2 separate regions of the Homo sapiens genome follow, and region 1 is linked to region 2. Evidence: promoter capture Hi-C in 16 types of primary human blood cells and fetal thymus (Javierre and others, 2016). All regions are on one chromosome and are shown on one strand. The core of a region is centred on a gene start or on the middle of the fragment in contact, and the rest is flanking DNA. Distances in the headings are between cores, read along the strand shown. Region 1 overlaps YES1 (YES proto-oncogene 1, Src family tyrosine kinase). Region 2 holds the start of THOC1 (THO complex subunit 1).

The links. The method cuts DNA at HindIII sites, captures the fragments that hold promoters and counts their contacts. A CHiCAGO score of 5 or more calls a contact.
Region 1: a contact is called between a fragment that was not itself captured here and the fragment with the promoter of THOC1 in region 2, in 1 of 17 cell types (total CD4 T cells). The highest score is 6.4, in total CD4 T cells.

Annotation. Positions count from the first base shown.
Region 1 is chr18:791,231-796,625 of GRCh38, reverse strand. The region is part of intron 1 of YES1 (YES proto-oncogene 1, Src family tyrosine kinase); the gene reads left to right. Among named protein-coding and RNA genes, the nearest start is that of YES1, 18 kb to the left of the region's middle. The HindIII fragment of the contact is 4,646 bases long and covers 1-3,753 here.
Region 2 is chr18:266,215-271,146 of GRCh38, reverse strand. THOC1 (THO complex subunit 1) reads left to right here and starts at 3,100. Exons shown (of 21, transcript NM_005131.3): 1 at 3,100-3,181. The coding sequence starts at 3,128. RefSeq lists a silencer at 2,192-2,371 and an enhancer at 2,762-3,231. The HindIII fragment of the contact is 5,170 bases long and covers 1-4,669 here.

The DNA.
Region 1 (5,395 bases), core at 181-2,680, 530 kb before region 2:
CCGGCTAATTTTTGTATTTTTAGTAGAGACGGGTTTCACTATGTTGGGCAGGCTGGTCTTGAGCTCCTGACCTTGTGATCTGCCCGCCTCGGTCTCCCAAAGTGCTGAGATTACCAGCGTGAGCCACTGCACCCGGCCTAATTGTTTGTTTCTATGCCAATACCAAATAGCTTGATGCTGTTGATTATAACCATGATAACAGCAACTAATGTGTATTGATAATTGACTGTGTGACAGTCCCTGTATAAATACTTTAACATATTTAGCTAACTCATTTCTCACAGAACCTTCAACAGTTAAGTATTCTTGATATCTTTATTTTTACAGATAAAGAAATAGGCTTCAAGAGGTTAAATTTACTCAAATTACACGCTAGGACTGTAACCTAACTTTGTGACTCCAGAGCCTATACCCTTAACCATGAGGCTGTGATTCCTAGAAGGACAAATTTCCTGTTTTCCTTTTCAAAACTTTCTCAGCTATTCATATGCATTTACTTTTTCATGTGAACTTCATTGTGATTTTGATTTAATGTTACTTAGATTTATGTAGGAAGGATGGGCATCTTTGTAATGTACCTTCTAAAAATAAGTGATGTGTTTATTTTTTGAGATTGTCTTTTATATCCCAGTTTTATTATATAGACTCTGAACTTTTGTTTTACTTACTCATAGGTCTTATGTGTGTGTGTGTGTGTGTGTGTGTGTGTGTGTTTAAGTTCTGGGATACATGTGCTGAACGTGCAGGTTTGTTACATGGGTACACATGTGCCATGGTGTTTTGCTTCACCTATCAACCCGTCATCTAGTCTTAAGCCCCGCATGCATTAGGTATTTCTCCTAATGCTCTCCCTCCCCTTCCCCCCACCCCCTAACAGGCCCCAGTGTGTGATGTTCCCCTCCCTGTGTCCATGTGTTCTCATTGTTCATCTCCCACTTATAAGTGAGAACATACGGTGTTTGGTTTTCTGTTCCTGTGTTAGTTTGCTGAGGATGATGATTTCCAGCTTCATCCATGTCCTTGCAAAGGACATGAACTCATTTCTTTTTTATGGCTGCATAGTATTCCATGGTGTATAGGTGCCACATTTTCTTTATCCAGTCTATCATTGATGGGGATATGGGTTGGTTCCAAGTCTTTGCTGTTGTAAATAGTGCTGCAAGTTTATTTAGAAATAACTTCAAAGTTCAGAAAAGTTGCAAGAGTAGCACAAAGAACTGGATACCCTCCACCCAGATTTACCAGTTGTTAACATTTTGTCACATTTCCTTTATGTTTCCCTCCTTGGGTATGTGTGTATACGTGTCCCCACCACCACCATTTGAAAGTTAATTGCAAATGGCATGTCTCAGTACCCTTAAATATTTCAGTATGTATTTCCTAAAACAAGGACGTTTTCTTATACAACTGCAGTACAGTTACTGAATTCAACAAGTTCAACATCAGTATAATACAGTTACCTAATTTGCAGTTGCGGATTCAGTTATGTTCCCCAAAAGGGTCCTAACCCTCAGTACCTGTGAATGTGGCCTTATTTGGAAATAGCATCCTTTGGGAGGCCAAGGCAGGCGGATCACGAGATCAGTAGATTGAGACCATCCTGGCTAATGGGTGAAACCTTGTCTATACTAAAAATACAAAAATTAGCCAGGCATGGTGGCACGCGCCTGTAGTTCGAGCAACTTGGGAGGCTGAGGCAGGAGAATTGCTTGAACCCGGGAGGCAAGGTTGCAGTGAGCCGAGATTGCACCACTGCTCTCCAGCCTGGGCGACAGAGTGAGACTCCGTCTCAAAAAACAAAACAAAACAAAAACCAAAAACCCACATGTGAAGACAGACACCCAGAGAGAATGCCTTGTGACAACAGAGGCAGAAATTGGTGGGATGCACCTGTAAGCCAGGAGCACGAAGGATTGCCAGCTACCATCAGAAGCTAGGAGGAGGCAAGGAAGGATGGTATCCAGAGTGTCAGGGGGAGCATAGCCCTGCTGACACTTGAATTTTGGACATCCTGCCTCCAGAACTATGACATAATAAATTTGTTATTTTAAGCCATTTTTTTTCTACAGCAGCCCTAGGAGGGAACAATAAAGGAAATGTGGCAAGGAAAGTAATACAGTAGTTCATATATTTTTCCAATTGTCCTAATAATATTCTTTATAACAAAAATCCAAAATCCAATCTAGAAATACATGTTGCATTTAATTGTCATGTTTCTTTAGTCTCCTTTAATCTGAACAGTTCTTCAGGCTTTATCTTTCATGACATTGATATTTTTAAAAGTTAGACTACTGGTTTTGTATAGTGTACATCGATGAGTTTTTGTTTGATGTTTCCTCATGATTTGATTTAGATTATGAATTTGAGGCAGGAGTACCACTTAAAGGCTATTATGTTCTTCAGAGTACAAGACATCAGGAGGCACGCTGTGTTAGTCTATCCTACTATTGGCAGTATTAACTTTGATTACTTAGTTAAGTGATATCTGTCAGGTTTCATCACCACAAAATGAACATATTTCTCTTTTTAGTAAATTACAGATAAGGTAATAGTTTTTGCTTCCATTGATGATTCCTTGGCTGAATTAATTATTGCAGTAAGAGTTGTTCTGGGATACGTGTGCTGAATGTGTAGCTCTCTTACTCCAAGTTTAGTAGTTGGGATTCTGTAAGAGAGAACCTTCCTGTCCTTATTTATTTATCAGAGTGACTTATGGATTATCTTAGTCAACTAGTTGTAATCTGTTAGTGTCACCATTTTTTTTTCTTGATGCTCAGATTCTGTGTTTGGTCAGCAAGAGCCTCTTCAAACTAGTTCCTATGTACTTTTGATAGATCCCTATCATTTGTTGAGTACTACTTTATAACTATTTTTGGTATATTACAAAACTACTTATTTCTCAATATATTTTTGTAGCTGCTCTATAGAAATCTGTGTCTGATAGCTTTTCAGTTAATTCTCTTACTTTTTTTGTATAAGGGATCATGCAGGTCAGACACAGTGGCTCACACCTGTAATCCCAGTGCTTTGGGAGACTGAGGTGGGAAGATCACTTGAGCCTAGGAGTTTGAGACCAGCCTGAGCAATTTAGTGAGACCCCATCTCTGCAAAAAATTAAAAAATTAGTTGGGTGTAGTGGCAGATGCCTGTAGCCCTAGCTACTCAGGAGGCTGAGATGGGAGGATTGCTTCAGACCAGGAGTTCGAAGCTGTAGTGAGCGATGATCATGCCACTGCACTGTAGCCTGGGTGACAGAGTGAAACCTCATTTCAGGTAATAATTATAATGGCCAGGCGCGGTGGCTCACGCCTGTAATCCCAGCACTTTGGGAGGCCGAGGTGGGTGGATCACGAGGTCTGGAGTTTGAGACCATCCTGGCCAACATGGTGAAACCCTGTCTCTACTAAAAATACAAAAAATCATCCGGGCATGGTGGCATGCGCCTGTAGTCCCACCTACTTGGGAGGCTGAGGCAGGAGTATCGCTTGAACCCGGGAGGTGGAGGTTGCAGTGAGCCCAGATCGCACCACTGCACTCCAGCCTGGTGACACAGTGAGACTCTGTCTCAAAAAAAAAAAAAAACCAATAATAATAATAATTATAATGAACCTTAAGACTCTTTCTATTGTTTGCCATTAAGCTGTGATGCCAAAGTTGACTTGAACTTTATAGATATATAATATCATGGAAGGATTCCTCTATTTTTAGTTCATGAGAGTTATTAAAAAGTAGGGGTGGGTGTTGATTTAAGCTTTTTCCCCCCCCTTGGCTTTTATTGAGATAAATAACTTTTCTTCTTTTTCTTTCTTTTTTACATTTTTTTAAAAAATAAAGACAAGGTCTCTCTATGTTGCCCAGGCTGATCTTGAACTCCTGGCCTCAAGCAATCCTCCCTTCTCAGCCTTCCAAAGTGCTGGGATTACAGGTTTGAGCCACTGCACATGGCTGCTGCTGCTGCTGCTCCTGCTGCTCCTCCTTCATATATATATGAATGTGTGTGCGTATATATATGTATGTATATATATGTATATATGTATATACACACACACACACACACACATATACAGAGGGAGAGAGAGAGAGAGAGAGAGAGAGAGATGGAGTCTCAGTGTGTTTCTGAGGCTGGAGTATAGTGCTATTCACAGGTGTGACTATGGCACACTACAGCCTTGAATTCCTGGCCTCCTGCCTCAGCCTCCAGAGTAGCTGGGACTACAGATGTGTGCAGCTGCACCTGACTTCTTTATTTTTTATTTTATTTTTTTAACCCAAATCCAAAATGGTAAATATGACTTCTTTATTTATTTGTTTGTTTGTTTTTCGAGATGAAGTCTCACTCTGTCATCCAGGCTGGAGTACAGTGGCACAATCTCAGCTCACTGCACCCTCTGCCTCCTGGGTTGAAACAATTCTCCTGCCTCAGCCTCTGGAGTAGCTGGGATTACAGGCATGCACCACCACACTTGGCTAAACTTCCTTATTTTTTAATATGGTGAATTAATATTATTAATAGACCCTAAAACTAAACCATTCTTGCATACTGAGAAAACACTATTTTTTTTAGTAGAAAAGCATAGAACAGTGGTTATGAACACTCTCCAGTATAATAGATGAGCACTTGAAATGTGGCTAGTCCAAATTGAGATGTACTGTAAGTGTAAAATACACACCCGATTTCGAGTAGCTGGGCTCACAGGTGCACGCCAACACCCCCAGCTGATTTTTGTATTTTTAGTAGAGGCGGGGTTTCACCATGTTGGTCAGGCTGTTCTCAAACTCCTGACCTCAAGTAATCCACCTGCCTCAGCCTCCCAAAGTGCTGGGATTACAGACGTGAGCCACCACGCCTGGTGCAGTACACACCAGATTTTAATATGGTAAAAAGAATGTAGAATAATTCAACTATTAAATATTAATTGCATGTTGATAACATTTTTGATATAGTAGGTTAAATAAGATATTAAAATTAATCTCTTTCTGTTTTATGTTTTTAAATGTGGCTACTGGAAAATTTAAAATTGCATATGTGGTTTGTATTTGTGGTTCACATTATATTTCTATTGGACAGTACTGTTCTGGAGCTAAATTGCCTGAGAGTGTCTTTGACCTTAGACTAGTTACCTATTCTGTGTGCCTTAGTTTCCTCATCTTTAAGGGGTGAGTAAAAATAGTCCTTAACTGAAAGGGTGGTTGTAAGGATTAAATGTGTTAGTATACACAAGAGTACTTAGGATAGTATTTAGCACATAGCAGCTGCCTAATGTTATCTGTTACTATTCTTAATAAGATTGCAAGCTGCATGATGCCTGGGACGTTTTGTTCACTGTTGCATCTCTACTTTCTAGACTTTCTTTTTTTTTTTTCTTTTTTTTTTCTTCTTCAAGTTTCACTCTTG
Region 2 (4,932 bases), core at 1,851-4,350:
ACTCAGCCTCCCGAGTAGCTGGGATTACAGGTGCCTGCCACCATGCCTGGCTGATTTTTGTATTTTTAGTAGAGATGGGGTTTCACCATATTGGCCAGGCTGGTCTCAAACTCCCGACCTCAGGTGATCCAGCTGGCTCGGCCTCCCAAAGTAGTGGGATTACAGGCGTGAGCCACCGCACCGGGCCTATGTTTTGTTATTAATGACACTATGGTCCTCGCCCTTATCCAATTGTAAGGAAATAATTTCTGAAACATTGAATAGGCCCATGGTAAAGATTCAAGAGTTAAGACTTAAGAAAAATACAGGCTTTGGGATGACAGCTAGGCTCAAATTCCAAACTTAGCTTTCTCTAGCCATGTGACTTACAGCCAATGAGGCTGTATACTCATTAATATATAACTAAGTAAAAAATTGTTGTAAGGACTAGAAGCAATATAAGAAAAGTGCCAGGTCAGGCACAGTGGCTCATGCCTGTAATCCCAGCACTTTGGGAGGCCGAGGCAGGACCACTTGAGCCCAGGAATTCAAGACCAGCCTAGGCAACATAGCAAAACCCTGTCTTACAAAAATAAAAAAATTAGCTGAGCTTGGTGGCACATGCCTCTAGTCCCAGCTACTTGGGAAATGGAGGCAGGAGGATCATTTGAGCCCAGGAGTTTGAGGATACAGTCAGCTATGATCAAACCACTACACTCCAGTCTGGATGACAGAATGAGACCCTGTCTCTTAAGAAAAGAAAAAAATGTACTTGCCTCTGAGGTCTTAGTTGTGTTCCAGATGGTTAATAGTCATCTGTAATATGATAATCCTATTACAACAATTAGTATCAGATAAACAAAGTATAATTCTGAATTAAATCATTTTTATTTTGCCAATTTGTAAATTTAATGTATACAACCAAACCTGAATGATCTTGCTGATTCTTAAAAAGCCTGTAACATTTCAGGTAGTCATTATTGTTCACAATTCCCACTTAGGAGTAAGATTCTGCAGTTATCTTTTCCTTAGCTTCCTGTATTCTTATTGTGCATGTTAACTAAAAAATCATAAGATCTATAGATTTAGAAAAGGAGAGACTTTGTTTCTTATAAGGAGTTACAGCCTGCAAGGTGGCCATTCTGCAGGCTGGGAAGCATGCCTCCAGCCAAGACCACATACAGACACTTCAGAGGAGGAGTTGGAGTAGGAACTTTATGCTTAACTGGTTGGCTAAACATACATATTCAACAAGTTAGAGGAGCGGCTATGAATATTCATGAAAGTGGTCTTGACACATGCATATTAAACAAATATGCATGTTTAACAGACAATCCATGTTCACTTTGGGGTGGAGACTTAACATTTAAATGTATTTACAGTTTGGTCCTATACATCAAAATATCTTTTCAGGAAGTTACGTAAGCATGCAATCACTACAAATTGGCCAGAACAAGTCCATGGTCAGTGACCTTCTTATCAGGAGAAAGTAACTGAAATCAATAAAAGCTGTAGTTACGGCTGGTGGGAGAGGGTTGTTAGTGTCTGGTGGTCGATGAACTGCAAATTGTTTTAATACTGTGAGGCCAGCGCTTGTTTAGCTGCTAAAGAAAAACCTTGAAGCATAGTGAGAACATAGTTTATTTTTCAAGCGTAGGGATGCATGACTTTTAACCCTTGCTTGGCATGGGCTTAGGTCCTGTTTATACTTTGGTATCTTATTGCCATGGAGTCAATTCCGTCAGTCCTATCATCTCCGTTTTTTTTTTTGAAACAGAGTTTCACTCTTGTCGCCCAGGCTGGAGTGCAATGGCACGATCTCCGCTCACTGCAACCTCCGCCTGCCGGGTTCAAACCATTCTCCTGCCTCGGCCTCCTGAGTAGCTGGGATTACAGGTGCGTGCCACCACGCCCGGCTAATTTTTGTATTTTTAGTAGAGACAGCGTTTCACCATGTTTGCCATACCTCAGGTGATCCACTCCTGACCTCAGGTGACCCACCTGCTTCGGCGTCCCAAAGTGCTGGGATTACAGGCGTAAGCCACCGCGCCTGGCCTCTATTTTAACTTTATGGCCAGTCAGCTATCTCCTCTAAATCACAAAAGGGAGAGGGTATAACCAGGTCCGTCTGACCTCCCATCCCGTTATGACTGGGAACTCAGTTGTTAAGATTTTGCTGGTGTCCCCTTGGCCTCACGGGGGTCTGTTCAGTTGTTGGGGGGCTTAGGATTTTAAATTTACAGACTTCGAAGAAGGGAACAAGATACACGTGTGAGGGAATAAGAGGAAGTTACCCGAGTCTGAGTCAGTGCTTCCTTCTCCACCGTGTAACTCCAACTTAGAGTTACTGCCACTCGGCTTCTATCGGCCACGTCTCTCCTGGGAAGGCAGGCAAGGGACGAAATGGAGGGAGACAAGGTTTTCGCTAGGGAAGCCTCGGCCCAGGACGCAGCGCCACCCGTTTTCCAATCAGCGCCGGGCACTGCATTCCTCCTAGGTCTCTTTCTTTCAGTAGAGACCTTTTAATAATAAATACTACTTACATTGCTTTACAGTTCACACTTGCGGTCATTATTTCAGTGGAGCTTTTCAACAGCTCTGTGAGACAGGTATTATTTCTATTTCGGAGCAGAGAGAACAGCGCCCTTGAGCCACAGGGCTCATACATCCGGAGCCTATCACCACTCCGCATCTTAAGCTCCCGGGATGACCGCGGACTGGCGGCCCAGGACCACTGCTCCAGCTGTTTCCCCAGGTAATCCACCTGCCTTGGGTTACCTTTTAGCGCGGCCCAGTTAGCCGCAACCAGCCACCATTTACCCGCTTTCCCCAAACCAGGAAAACCACAGAAACGCATGTGCGCGGCCAGTCTCTTCCACGCCCGGGAACGCAGAGCTTACAGACCAAGGCCGCCCAAGTCCCCTCACCCCAAAGGCTACCCAAGAACCCCGAGTAGGCTGTTTGGCTGACTCAGGCGCCCAACGCCCACCCGAACTGAGTCGCTAGGGAAACTCCCAACTGCCAGCTCGCCCGACCGGTGTTCACAGGCCACTCTAGCCGGGCTCAGAGAGACCGCAGTCTCGTTGCTCCTGGCTTGACGTCATCGGCAGGCGCCGCAGCGCAGTGGCGGGCACGCGCAGCCGAGAAGATGTCTCCGACGCCGCCGCTCTTCAGTTTGCCCGAAGCGCGGACGCGGTTTACGGTGAGCTGTAGAGGGGAGGGTGCAGGCCTGACCCGGCGCTATGCTTTGTCCTCTTCTCCCTGAAATTACTCGAATTTTGCCCTGGGGTAAAGTGAGACAGAGGTGTGTCCGCCTCAGCGTCCGCTCCGGGCCCCGTCGGAGGTTGAGGGGTAGGGAAAGACGCACTACCCGCCTCTTCTTTGTGGGCTGGGCCGTCCGCCTCCGCCCACCCTCCAGCGGGTCCCCGGACTGCGTGCTGGGCGCCTCGGCTCCCCGCTTGGAGTGCCCACCTGCAGACTACTGCTGGTTGGGTCCATCCTCTCAGCTCGTTTAGTGGGGCAGGTGTCTCGAGAAGGGGAAGGGGAGCTGCTGAAGGGGGAGGGTGGGAGTGGTTTCAGTCCAAAGACCTGGCTCCCGCCCTAGCCTTCTGAGCTACCAAGTGCTTGTTCCCGCCGTCTCTTCACCACCCCTTAACCCACCGTGTCTAACTCCTAAGCGATCGATGAGATCCTAAGCGGGAAAAGGCAGATAGATCACCTTGGGAAGGGTAACCAGATGCTATTTTATTCTTGCTCAATGTGGAAGGGTGGTTTTGAGCATTTGGGAAACACTTGACAGATCACTTTCTCATTTAACTATTAGAGTAACACTGTGAAGTAGGCTAAGTTGGTTATTCCTGGTACATGAGGTAGAAGCTGACACCCCCCAAAAAGTTGTGACTTCAGTGGTTTTTCTGACTTTAGACACTCTGTTCTTTTTATGTTGCTCGTCACAGCAACGTAAGTATGAAGAACACTTTTAAGTTGCCTGACTCTATTCGTCTCTAGCATTTGCACCAACATTTCTCAGATATTCGGCTGTGTTTTGGTAGTTATAGGGATGCCAGGATGAAAATTGTGTGAAAGAAAAATTCATCCTTTGTAGTAAGTAGTTTTCTTGTTTGCAGGGTTATATATATATATATATACATATATATACGTATACGTATAATATATATATACACACACACACAGTGTGAGGTTTTTTTTAAATGGATTATATTTTGTGTATGTCATCATAATCATTTTCTTTGTGTGCGTTTTGCTGCAATCTCTGGTGCTTTGAAAGCCTGCTAAGAGTAACTGTTAGGACTATCCAAGATCATATTGGCGGCCGGGCGCAGTGGCTCACGCCTGTAAATGCAGTACTTCGGGAGGCCGAGGCGGGCGGATCACCTGAGGTCAAGAGTTCAAGGCCAGCCTGGCCAACATGGCAAAGCCCCGTCTCTACTAAAAATACGAAAATTAGCCAGGCGTGGTGGTGGGCGCTGTAATCCCATCTACTTGGGAGGCTGAGGCAGGAGAATCGCTTGAACCCGGACAGCGGAGGTTGCAGTGAGCCAAGATCATGCCAGTGCACAACACCTGGGCAACAGAGGGAGACTCCATCTCAAAAAAAAAAAAAAAAATCATACTAGCCCTGAAAAGGACCATGAAATTGGAGATCATCTAGTTCAGTGTTTCTCAAGCTTCTTGTGAAATGCAGATTCTTGTTCAGTAAGTGTGGAAGGGAGCCTGAGATTTTGCATTTCTACCAGCTTCCTAGGTGATGCCACTGTAGCTGCTGCTGGTAGTAAAAATCTACAAAAACCCTCTTATTTAACTGGTGACGAAAATGAAGCACAAAGAGATAAAGGAACAGGCCCCAAATTACTCAGCCTGTTAGTGGCAGAGCAAGGAATGGACACATTTAGGATAGATCTAATTCCTGTGAGGTAATAAGATGACTTTCTA